Regions from separate parts of the Homo sapiens genome. Here region 1 is linked to region 2. Evidence: promoter capture Hi-C in 16 types of primary human blood cells and fetal thymus (Javierre and others, 2016). All regions are on one chromosome and are shown on one strand. The core of a region is centred on a gene start or on the middle of the fragment in contact, and the rest is flanking DNA. Distances in the headings are between cores, read along the strand shown.

The links. Contacts are between HindIII fragments. The CHiCAGO score rates a contact against its expected background, and 5 or more counts as called.
Region 1: a fragment that was not itself captured here is called in contact with the fragment with the promoter of PLCH1-AS1 in region 2 in 1 of 17 cell types (megakaryocytes); the score reaches 6.4 in megakaryocytes.

Annotation. Positions count from the first base shown.
Region 1 is chr3:155,703,506-155,709,620 of GRCh38, forward strand. PLCH1 (phospholipase C eta 1) reads right to left here. Exons shown (of 23, transcript NM_014996.4): 2 at 641-759. The coding sequence starts at 719. Among named protein-coding and RNA genes, the nearest start is that of PLCH1, 39 kb to the right of the region's middle. The HindIII fragment of the contact is 2,851 bases long and covers 1,772-4,622 here.
Region 2 is chr3:155,446,137-155,452,202 of GRCh38, forward strand. It overlaps PLCH1-AS1 (PLCH1 antisense RNA 1), which reads left to right and starts at 3,048. Exons shown (of 2, transcript NR_046746.1): 1 at 3,048-3,289. It also overlaps a transcript of PLCH1 not described here. The HindIII fragment of the contact is 6,189 bases long and covers 738-6,066 here.

The sequences.
Region 1 (6,115 bases), core at 1,947-4,446, 260 kb after region 2:
GGTAAAGGCAATTTGTCTTAGTTTGCCATGAAAATGACTAATATTGATTACTCTCTGATTCACAGCTGCAGTCCTCCACCCTGATAGTAACGGTTTAGTGCTGCAAACTCTTCTGTTCTGTTGTTATATGGGACATAATATATAGATAAGTCTGAAAGCCCTAAAGGACAGCAATAAAAGTGGGTGGACTTCTCTTCAATAAGTGTCTAAAGCAGGTGGCCACAAGCACCCTCTAACATCTCAATTTGGAAGGCCATGCTATGCTGGTAATAAGCATTGACTGGTGATCCACAAATATTAACTGAACAATTATATGGCCCTCACCCAAAATAATTACAAACATCAGAAAGGGATATTACTGGAGTTGACAGTGTGGTAGAAGAGGAAAGGCACTGGTACCAACTACCCTACGAAATAGAAAGAGATAACACTATTATAGTCGTTGAGGTGGGGCCCATTCCTTACAAGTGGAGATAGTAAGTGCAATGGGACTTCTTGGGTAATTATTCATAAACAAGTTAACTCAAGCTCTTGGTTCCATCCAACAATTATACCATATTTGCATCTAGAGTGCTAGAATAAAAGTCCTGTCAGAAACAAAATAAAAGATCCAACTACATAAATACAAGAGACAGCTTACCATGAAACACACTGTTGTCCACCAGAAAATGCCTGCGGTACTGCACACAGTTCCTTTTTTCCAAGTTCCAGTAACTCATTGTCAGAAGATTTCTGGCACAGCATCAAAACCAAATTGCCCTGTCAAGGGAAACAGAATGAGACAAAAATGAAGAAAACGGCAGCCACACGCTCACACTGGTAGCATAATGCCATCGGTTGCCCAGCATTACGGGGCAACATATACGGCATACAACTTCTCCACACATGGAGCTGGAATCCCCCAGGCCCTAAGAAATTTCTCACAAGTCTTCCCAGGGTCTAGAATGACATTTAGCATATCAAAACAGTAACTTTTTCAAACCACCTTTCAGGGCTCAATGTTACCCATCTCCAGGGGAAATAAACCTACCATCAGAGAGCAGGTTTCAGGACCAGTATATGTGCTCCCAGCCTCACTCCTAGTAGTCCAAGATCCAAACTAGTCAACACTGGTAACATTTCAGGAAATTTCAGTTGCAGGTGGGGAGGCAACTAACAGGAACGAAGCTATCATTCCCAATTCCTGAATTTTGTGTCAGTACAGCATCCATGTGGCCATGAATGAGCCAAGCACATTAATAAAATGTGCCTCCCTCTTTTTGGTTCATTGCTGGTGTCCATTTAGGACTGCTAGGGCCTGGATCTGCCCAGGCTGAACTCATTGATGTAACTAGAGCTGGGCACAGGCCTCAGCAAGGTAAACTAGCAGTGCCTGCTCCTACATAAGACTTGCTCCATCACAGACACAGAGAAACACAATGCTAGCTAGAGCAACAACTTGAAAAGCAGAGATCTGAGTCGATGAATTAAATTCCTCCAAAAGCTGACGTGCATAACCCTGAACAAGGCCTCCTTTGTTCACAGGATTTGGCTAAAGCAACTTTTCAGAATTCCAACCTCCTTTCTGTTCACAGAATAAAGCCAGGCAAAACCAAGCAAGGCTGGCATGAAGCAAAACCCACAGGTGGAAAACAATTTGTCATCTCTCCTACTAAAACCACCTAGAATTTTGTAAACGTATCCCAGGATAAAATCAGTCACTTAGTGAAAAAAATATATATTATCAGAGTGTTGTCTATTCATTAATGGAACAATTGGTGAAGGCTCCTGAAGCTTTTGTCAGAGCTTCTCCTTGGCTCCCTATGGCCCAACCTTAACCCACAACACCAGGGATTTTACCTAATTCCTGCCTATCCTGCCTTTTCTCTGGCTCCGTGCTGGACTGGCCACTTCCTCTTGCCTCATACCCACCTGGCTAATCTGACTGCTTATCCTACTCCCTAAGGCTGAGGGAGTCTTACTACTGTATGGAACTGACTACAAAATACAATAGAATATAGCTAATTATGAAAACAACCCAACCTCTGCCCTCTCCCCAGCCAATACTATATACTACAAAGTTCTCTTCTTTAGAAAGTATTTTTAGTTATACAAATAATGCAGTTATATATGTTCATTATTTTTAATAATGTGCATTTGTTTATAGTTAGCAAAATATATTCACATACATGATGCTCATTTGTCCCTTATTAATCTTCTGAGGTGAGTACTCTTCTCTCCTTCTACAACATTAAAGAAGATGACAAGGTGTTAGAGATTAACTGATTCACCCAATGCTGCTAGGAAAAAATAGTAATGAGACTTGAAGTCATATCTTCATATTCCAAAGTCAAGCCATAATAGCAACTAGGACTTTATGAAGTGAGGTCGTTTAAAAAATACAATCTGGGCTGCGCGCAGTGGCTCACGCCTGTAATCCCAGCACTTTGGGAGGCCAAGGCGGATGGATCACGAGGTCCAGAGATCGAGCCCAGCCTGGCCAACATAGTGAAATCCCATCTCTACTAAAAATACAAAAATTAGCTGGGTATGGTGGCACGCACCTGTAGTCCCAGCTATTCGGGAGGCTAAGGCAGGAGAATCACTTGAACCCAGGAGGCAGAGGTTGCAGTGAGGTGAGACAGCGCCACTGCACTCCAGCCTGGTGACAGAACAAGACTCTATCTCAAAAAAAAAAAAAAAAAAAAAAAAAAATCTGCTGGCCAGGTGCAGTGGCTCACGCCTGTAATCCCAGCACTTTGGGAGGCCAAGGTGGGTGGATCATGAGGTCAGGAGTTTGAAATCAGCCTGGCCAATTGGTGAAACCGTGTCTCTACTAAAAATACAAAAAATTAGGCCAGGTGCGGTGGCTCACACCTGTAATCCCAGCACTTTGGGAGGCCGAGGTGGGCAGATCACGAGGTCAGGAGTTCCAGACCAGCCTGACCAACATGGTGAAATCCCATCTCTACTAAAAATACAAAAATTAGCCGGGCATGGTGGCACACACCTATAATCCCATCTACTCAGGAGGCTGAGGCAGGAGAATCACTTGAACCCAGGAGGCGGAGGTTGCAGTGAGCTGAGATCCTGCCACTGCACTCCGGCCTGGGCGACAAAGACTCCGTCTCAAAAAAAAAAAAAAAATCTGCAAATTATTATACATTCCTCCCCTCAAAAGGTAGAATCTAAATTCACCTTCCCTTGAGTATGGGCTGGACTCAGTGACTCGTTTCTAACAATAAAATCAGCTGGAAATGATGCTATGAGTCTTCCAAGATGAGGTCACAAGAAGGATACCACTTCTGCCTGGTTCCCTATCTCTCAAGATGCTTGCATTGGAACCCAGCTACCACACTGTAAGGAAGCCCAGATTTAAGTGTTCTAGCTCACAGGCCCAGCTAGCCCCTCACCCAACAGCCAGCATCAGCCACAGACATGTGCTATATTGAATGTTTGTGTCTGCCCCAAATTCCTATGGTGAAATCTAATGCCCCCCAATGTGATAGTATTAGGAGGTGGGACCTTTAGTCTCCACCCTTATGATTAGGATTAGGTCCCTTATAGAAGAGACCCTAGAGAGCTAGCCCTACCCTTCCACCATATGAGAACACAGCAAGAAGTCAGCAGTCTGCAATCCAGGAAAGGGCCCTCACAAGACATCAAATCTGCCAATGCCTTGATCTTAGACTTCCCAGCCTCCAGAATTGTGAGAAATAAATTTCTGTTATTTATAAGCTACCCAGTTTATGGCATTGTTATAGCAGCCCAAAATGAACTAAGACAACATGAGAATAAATGAATCTACAGATGATTCTAACCCCAAGTATTTCAGATGAGGCCACAGATACTGATGAGAAGAAATAAGCCATCCCTCTGTGCCTCACATGTATTTTTGACCTATAGAAACAGCGAAAGACAAGGCCGGGCACAGTGGCTCACGCCTGTAATCCCAACACTTTGGGGGGCCAAAGTGGGTGGGTCACCTGAGGTCAAGAGTTCAAAACCAGCCTGGCCAACAAGGCAAAACTCCGTCTCTACTAAAAATAGAAAAATTAGCCAGGCGTGGGGGTGGGCGCCTGTAATCCCAGCTACTCGGGAGGCTGAGGCAGGAGAATCACATGGCCAAGACCATGCCACTGCACTCCAGCCTGGGCAACAAGAACAAAACTCCATCTCAAAAAAAAAAACGGTGAAAGATAATAGATAATTATTATTTTAAGACAAAAGATGTGGGGTAATTTGTTACATAGCAATAGATAATGTAACATATAATACATGTAACATCCTCTCAGAGGATGATCATCCAATCAGAGTTGAGACCTTCAACACTTTCGGGACAGAAGCACAAACCTACAGACATATATGTAATATTCACATACTTGGACATTAGCTCACATCAATGGCCCAGGCTTTCCAGCTTCCAGATCTTTTTGCTTTTCTTTAAGGGCTGGGTAACATGCCACTGCCTTCATGAAATGCCCCCAGGAATCTCTCCCTCCAGTTTACCTAAAATTCTTTCATGCACTGAACTCCCATAATCCTGTTTCCCAGTTACTGAGAACCTACTATGCATTAGGAACATTGATAAGACTTTACATCAGTGAGCCTCAACCTTGACTACACATTAGAATCATCTGGGAAGCTTAAGACTCCTGACTCCCAAGTTACACCCAGGCCAATTACATCAGAATCTCTAGGGGTGGGATTCAGGCATCAGCAGGAGACTAATGAAAAGATGCTCTCCCTTCGGCCTTCAGATTTAGAGATAATGGAGGTGGAGATAATAAATAGAGTTAGTAGGCCTGGGGCAAGGGAAGAGAGCTGTGCGATAAGCCTCATTTTAGCTTCCACCAGATTCAGAAGAGCCAGGCCCTAGGGCTCACTAAAGGGATTCAAGTGAAAGGGATGTTAGACTTCAACTAAGACAAACCTCTCATGGTGTAGCCAGAAGGAAACTGAGGCCCAGAAAGGATGTGTGGCTTGCAAGATAACACCTCTAGCTGGAAGATGATAAACTGATGGGAAACCCAGCCTCAGCAGTTCCAAAGCAGGTTGAGTCTTTCATGGCCCCGTTTGTGTGAACACAGTAGGTAAAAACAACTACTGAAGTATACTACATTCATTTATTTTTTAGACAATTTATATTACATTAGAGATGTATTTCCCCTGCATCTTGTATCCAGTTTGAAGTTGTTTGGTCAATATTCAGGCAAGGATGGTTTTAAATTGATCACCTTTTTTTTCTTTTCAACTTGCTTTTAAGACTTACAAAATATTCCACCTCCTAAGAGGTCTAGGTAATATAATATGTTACACATTCAGAACTCGATAAGCATTTACATCTTATAAATAGAACCTGCAGATTTACGCTCTTTATTAAACATACAGATTAATTATGGTACCATACAAAATAGTCTCATTGCCCTAAAGTCTGCTATGCTCTGCATTCTCCCTCCCTCCCCCTTAGCCCCTGACGAGCACTGATAATTTTTACTGTCTCTATAGTTTTGCCTTTTCCGGGATGTCTTATGGTTGGAATCACACAGTACATAGCCTTTTCCAATTGGCTTCTCTCACTTGGTGATATGCATTTAATGTTCTACGTCTTTTCATGGCTTGAGAGCTCATTTCATCCTAGCACTAAATAATATTCCATTGTCTGGATGTGCCACAGTTTATTTATCCACTGAGCTACTGATGAACATCTTAGTTGCTTCCAAATTTTGAAATTTATAAATACAGATCCTGCAAACATCCATGTGCAAGTTTTTGTGTGGATATAAGTTTTTAACTCATTTGGGTAATACCAAGGAGGGTGACTGCTGGACTGTGTGGTAAGAGTATGTTTAGTTTGTAAGAAACAGCCAAGCTATCTTCTAAAGTATAAGATATTTTGTATCATTTTGCATTGCTGCCAGCAATAAATGATAGTTCCTGTTGCTCTACATCTTTGCCAGCATTTGGTGTTACAAGTGTTCTGGATTTTGGCCTTTCTAATAGCTGTGTGGTGGTACTCATTGCTGTTTTAATTTCTACTTTGCTAATGATCTATATGAAGCACCTTTTCATATGCTTGTTTGCCAGTAGTATATCTTCTTCAGTGAGGTGTCATTCATTCATCCATTCATTCATT
Region 2 (6,066 bases), core at 1,798-4,297:
TGCAACCTCTGCCTCCAGGTTCAAGCAATTCTCCTGCCTCAGCCTCCCGAGTAGCTGGGACTACAGGTGCATGCCACAATGCCCCGCTAATTTTTGTATTTTTAGTAGAGATGGGGTTTCACCATGTTGGCCCAGATGGTCTCGATCTCTTGACCTCGTGATCCACCCACCTCAGCCTCCCAAAGTGCTGGATTATAGGCCTGGCCTGGCATCTTAAAGCTCAAGATTCAAATGGATAATTTAAAAAATGTTCTTAGTGTTTTTGTATTATATTTTTTTATATTGTGTGCAATTATGGAAATATTTTTAAAATTTGTTATCTCTAATGAATTCACAATATATGCAGAAAAAGTTGCTAGAGTGAATAAAGTTGCATAGAAAGTGACTTGTCCACTTGCCAACATTTTTCTGTTTTGCATTGCCTGGGCAGTTACCAACTTGCTTTTGTATTCAAGCAAGACGAAGAAATTACCATTCATGCATTTACCCATTTTTGCTCAGGGCTCAAACAGGGTACCACATTAGTAACTTTTAAAGAAATGATTAGCGAAAGTTGAAAATTTTCACCTACTATAGAAGCTGTCCTTTGTATCAGACAAATCAAACCAAACAAGATTTAAGGCTTTTAGAAAGAGTATTGGTTTCATATATATTTGAAATTTCAGAATCACATCTGCCTCTCAGGCCCAGAGTCTATTTAAGAAACTACAATCACTTTTTTTGTTTTCAGTTTTCAAAGCTTGATACAACCTAAATACTGTTTTTTTATCCAAAATCCAGTCTTAGGAAGGTACTATCTTTTTATAAAGGTCTAAATACTCTTTTATTTTCATATATAAACATGAAGATAATTCTGGAGATTTCCCTAAATAAAACCCAATGTGAACAATCAATGCTGAGAGGCAACCTGAGCTTTTCTTCTCTCATTGTTCCTTTTTATTTTGCAGAAAACTCTGAAGCATTTAGTCACCTAACCTATTGAAGAAGGGTGAGCTCACCTGGGCCTTGAGTACCTGAATCAAGTCAACTTTAGAAGATGAAACTGGGGGGAAAGGGGAGATACCCAAGAGAATGTGTCATACTCAGTAATAAGTAAGGTAGCTTGTTAATATCCACTATCAGTTTTGGGTATAGGTGACTAATATCCTTCTACACTGCCATTATTGAACTTAATGTCTACTTTCAGAAATGTATCCTAGGTGATCTCCCAGCCTATTCCTCCACTCTGAATATTTCAGTCTCAATATACAAAAGGGTTTGATCCCTTTGAACATGCAGCAGGCATAGACGTGTCTGGAACATGAGGTACAAATCTGAGAAACTAACAGTCCAGCTTACCTGATTCCTAAAGAACAACCCCCATTTCTATCCCCACATCTCTATGTCTGGGTTCCCCAACCCCAGCTTCCATCTTGCCTGTTTTTCCTGGGTTAACCTAATGGACACAATTATTAGCATCTCCATAGTCTGAAATTTGTAAATTAATGTGCATCAGTATCTGCTCTGGAAAGCTGTGGATGATGCATCAGTATTTAGCAGTTACATCAAGCAATTTAGTCACCTAGATTTGTGATTTGGTTGGTGGCCTTTCAGATGGGATGTCTGGCAGTAGGAAGATACCTCCTCCTGGATCATGGCTCAGCTGGCTCTGAGTTCCCACTTTAATTTCTGGCTTAGTGGAAGCTAGGAAGTGATTCAGTGGAAGTGAAATTGAATCTCAAAGCATTTCCTAAATAAGCAGGTGTCCTTTTTTGGTTGAGGCAGACTCTGGCTCCCTAAGGCAGACAGAGGGGATACAAAGTATATTCCTACTGTTTTCAGGCTGTCTTTGTTTCCGGAGTAAAAGATGGAATAGAATTTTTTTTCCTCAGTCTAGCACCACTTAGTAAATTTCTTTCCAGTTTATTATAATTATTTTTAAGTTTTAGCTTTTGATAGCATTGCAAGTCTTTTTTTCCTTTTGCTGTCACAAGCAATTTAACTGAGAGCTGTTAGACCACTGTCATTTGAAACAGGCATCTCTGCTACCATCTACCATCTGTTTAACTGTTATTAAAGTCTCAGATAATGTGTATGATTCTAAAATACACAGTAGTAAGTTATTTTGTGTTCATTTATCTGCCTAGAGTCTGAGAAGTTGATTCTTTGAAAAATAAGCCAAGTTGTAGTTTATCTTTCAGGAGGGAAAATTTTCTTGGTCAATCTCCAGCCTTCTACTTATTTGTAGTCTACCGTTTTGATTATGAGTTCTGGAAAACTCTGTATAACAGAAACTTCTCTTAAATTGTTATGAATTGTTACATAAGAGCCACGATTTCTCATCTGATCCTTCAAATAGATGTTCCCAGGAAGTTGCTTGATATTGGATTTCAAGAAATACTCTATTTCCTCAGGAATTGGTATGTTGTGATTAAATACAACTCTGCCGTCGGTGATTGTGATTCAGACTCCCACATGGTGGGGATTCAGTGAGTTGTGTTTCAACAGCATAGTGATTTGGGGCACATGTTTTATAATCCTATACATGGACAGTGAGAATATTGTTGCTGTGTGTGGCAGACACGTGGTATTGATTGCTGATTCTGAACACAGCAGCCATTCTCCTACCCCTTTTTCTAAGCTGACAGAACCTGACTTTCATGAGTGAGGCTGCAAATGTCAGATGCCCCCTTGCAGCTAGAGGTAGGCATATGACCCAGTTCTGACTAGTGAAGCATAATTGGAAGTCTATTGAGAGGCTCTTAGGAAAGATTCTCTTCCTTGATAAAGAGTCAGGGTGGGAGAAGAGAAGCTCCACAGCACCTGATTAGAAAAAAGAGGCAGAGAGACCCCAACCCTCTCTTCCTGCCTATGAATATTGATGTGAGAAGAAGTGGTATTTGGAGCTACTGGAGTCATTATGTGACAAAAAGATGTCCTTAGCAAGTAAGGGATGGCACTCAAGCCACTGAAACACCCCTGGACTTATCTCCCTCCAAACCTTGCAGTAGTTATTCCCTGTAGTTACCGATATCCTGTTCTTCTCTACTCCTGGACACACAGGGACACAGCATTTCTCCACCAAAGCATGGCTCCATGACTCGGTAGATGAAATGAAATGTTGCCAGAAGCGTCGTGTGCTATCTCGTGTTTGACTCTCTACCTGCTCTTCCCCTGCAGTAGTAATCGTGGGAGCATGTATATTTACGGAGGTGTCATAAGATCAAACAGCCTGGAAGGAAGAGCCAATGCCTGAAAAACAGCTGCTGTGACGAGCTGCCTGAACCCTCAGCCAACTTTGTTACTTTGTGTGAGTAAGAAATTAACTTCTGTTGTGTTAAGCCACTGGTGGGGGTTGTTTGTTACCATAGCATAAAGTAGTTTATCATGCCTGATACAATCTGTATTCTTTTAAGCCATTTATAATTGGTAGGCTCCTCCATGTAGCTGAAAACATCCTAATTCATACTATACACAGCATTTGACATGAAAACAACTTTCCTGTAAAATGAGACATTTGCCTTCATGGCAAAATAAATATCGACTACTTTTGCTTGCCAAGATGCCAATCTCTTTCTAGAAACAGCATCCCAATCTTACTTAAGGAAACCACTGCAGCAGACATGGCCATGCTCTGCCCATGTCTTCTCAGCACTTGCTTCTACTCACAGAAGATTGCTGTCACTGCAAACTCCTGTGTCTCTGCTTGAGAACTTTCGTCTGGTTGCAATAGAACACTCATCTCACACACAGGACAAGCCAAAAGTGCCCAGGAGTTAATGCCCAGAAGCCCCCAGCAAATTGTGTAAATAATAGATAATGTTGAAAAATATCCTAGCTTCCTCACTTCTGGGTTGAGATAACTCTGATGTGTGTTCTAGATTGTCTCCCTGTGGAATAAAGCTCCAATTGCTCATTGTGGGAACTGCTTTGATAACACATCCTTTATTGGCTTCTCTTCCTTCCCTGCCTCTCTTCTCCACTCCCCTACTGAGGTTTTCTAGGATCATATCCAAAATAAACCACTTGTTCTTGAAACCTTGTTTCAGAGTCTGCTCTGGGGGAACCCAAACCAAGACGTCATTCTCTCCAAGGGGAACCAATCTTTTTGGGACTGGCAGTTAAGTTAGATTACTTGCTCTGTCTTTAATATTTGGATCTTGAACAGAATCCCACAAAGACTATCTTTAGGGAGATAGACGCTTTTCAAAGGGTCTGCTTGTTAGTTCCTTCTTTATGGATTCCTGCAGTTCTTTTTGATACTTCTTTTCTGAGCCAGATTTTTGGTTTCTCTTCCATTCTATTAGTTACCTTATATCCCTTCAATACATTCCTTTTGGGATGAAATAGCTAGAATTTCTTCCTGTGGCTTGCAGTAAAAGAAAACAATGAATTTAAACAACACATTAAACCTCTTTCAGATATAAAGACTGATATAAATGAATGAGTTATAAAATGTATAAGAGCACTAAATGCTATATTTTAATTATTCACGAAATCAAATCCATAGGAGTCACTTTAAAATGTCAATGTTTTCATGTTTCTTTATATTTCATTTGAAATAGTGTCTCTAGCCAGTGAAAATGTCTTTACAGCATTTCAATACAATGCCCATGAACAATTATTGATCTGGAAGGGTAAAATAACTTGGTAGTGGTGGGACGGGTCATTGTGGTTGTTGTTGTTTTATTTTGTTTTGTTTTTATCTGGGGTGGTTACTAAGTTTCCATTATCTAGTGTAGTACTTTTAATTAAACATTTTTAAGATAAAAAAACTTTTTAAGGCATTTCTATGCGAAGAAACCTGGATTGCTATAATAATAGAGAAAATTTGTTTATTTATACAAACCTTACATACCTAACCATGAGGATTCATACAGCAAAGCTGTTTAAATATGATTTAAAGAAGATCCCCTAATGCCCAAATCTATGACAAGTTGAGTAACAAAATTAATAATGAGAATAATGGACTATAACCCCCAAAATAAAAAATATATATTGATGAGTCCATACTGATACCAATCATTCAAGAAATAAATAAGAGAATTCAAATTAATAAATATAGAAGAAATAACAGAAATATAAAATCATCATTTGATAACATTACAGTAATAATTACCTCAATCAAGAATCATTAATAGGTAAGGGTGTGATGAAAAACAGGATATTTACATGGTCTCAATTATCTTGCCACGAGAAATTTACCAAATACAAAGAGGAAAATAATGTTAAGTGAAGAAAATTTGAAAGACTGCCTTATCCAAGTGATCTAAGTTAACATCACTAGTAATTAGACAAAATGTCATTATGTGCCTCCTGATTTGATGTGTTTAGAAGGTGTGATGGTTCATTTTATGTGTCAACTTAACAGGGCCATGTAGTGCCCAGATATTTAGCTAAACATTACTTATGGGAATGTCTATGTGGGTATTTCTTGATGAGGTTAACATTTGAATTAGTAAACTGAATAAAGCAGATTTCCATCTGCAATGTGTGCGGGCCTCTTTCCATTTTTTGGAGGCCTGAATGGACTAAAAGTATTCTGTTGGTGCAAAGTAATCATGGTTTTTGCCATTAAAAGTAATGGCAAAATACTTTTGCACCAACCTAATATAAGTGAGAAAGAATGTTTTCTCTCTTCCTGTCTTCAAACTGTGACAGAAGTCTTCTGCTTTTGGGCCTAAATTCAGACTGAATCTTACATCATTGGCTTTCCTGGTTCTCAGACCTTCACTGTCAGACTGGAACCAACACTATCAGCTCACTTGCTTCTCAGGCCTTCCTACTCAAACTGGAATGTATGTACCATCAGCTCTTCTGCCGGGACTTCTCAGTCCCCATAATCACATCAGCCCATTCCTTATAATAAATCTCTCTCAATCCCTCTCTCTCTGTCTCTCTCTCACACACACATACATTCTCTCTCTCTATCTCCTACTGGCCCTATGTATTAGTCTGTTTTCATGTTGCTGATAAAGACATACCCAAGACTGGGAAGAAAAAGAGGTTTAATCGGACTTACAAGTTCCACATGACTGGGGAGGCCTCAGAATCATGATAGGAGGAGAAAGGCACTTCTTACACGGT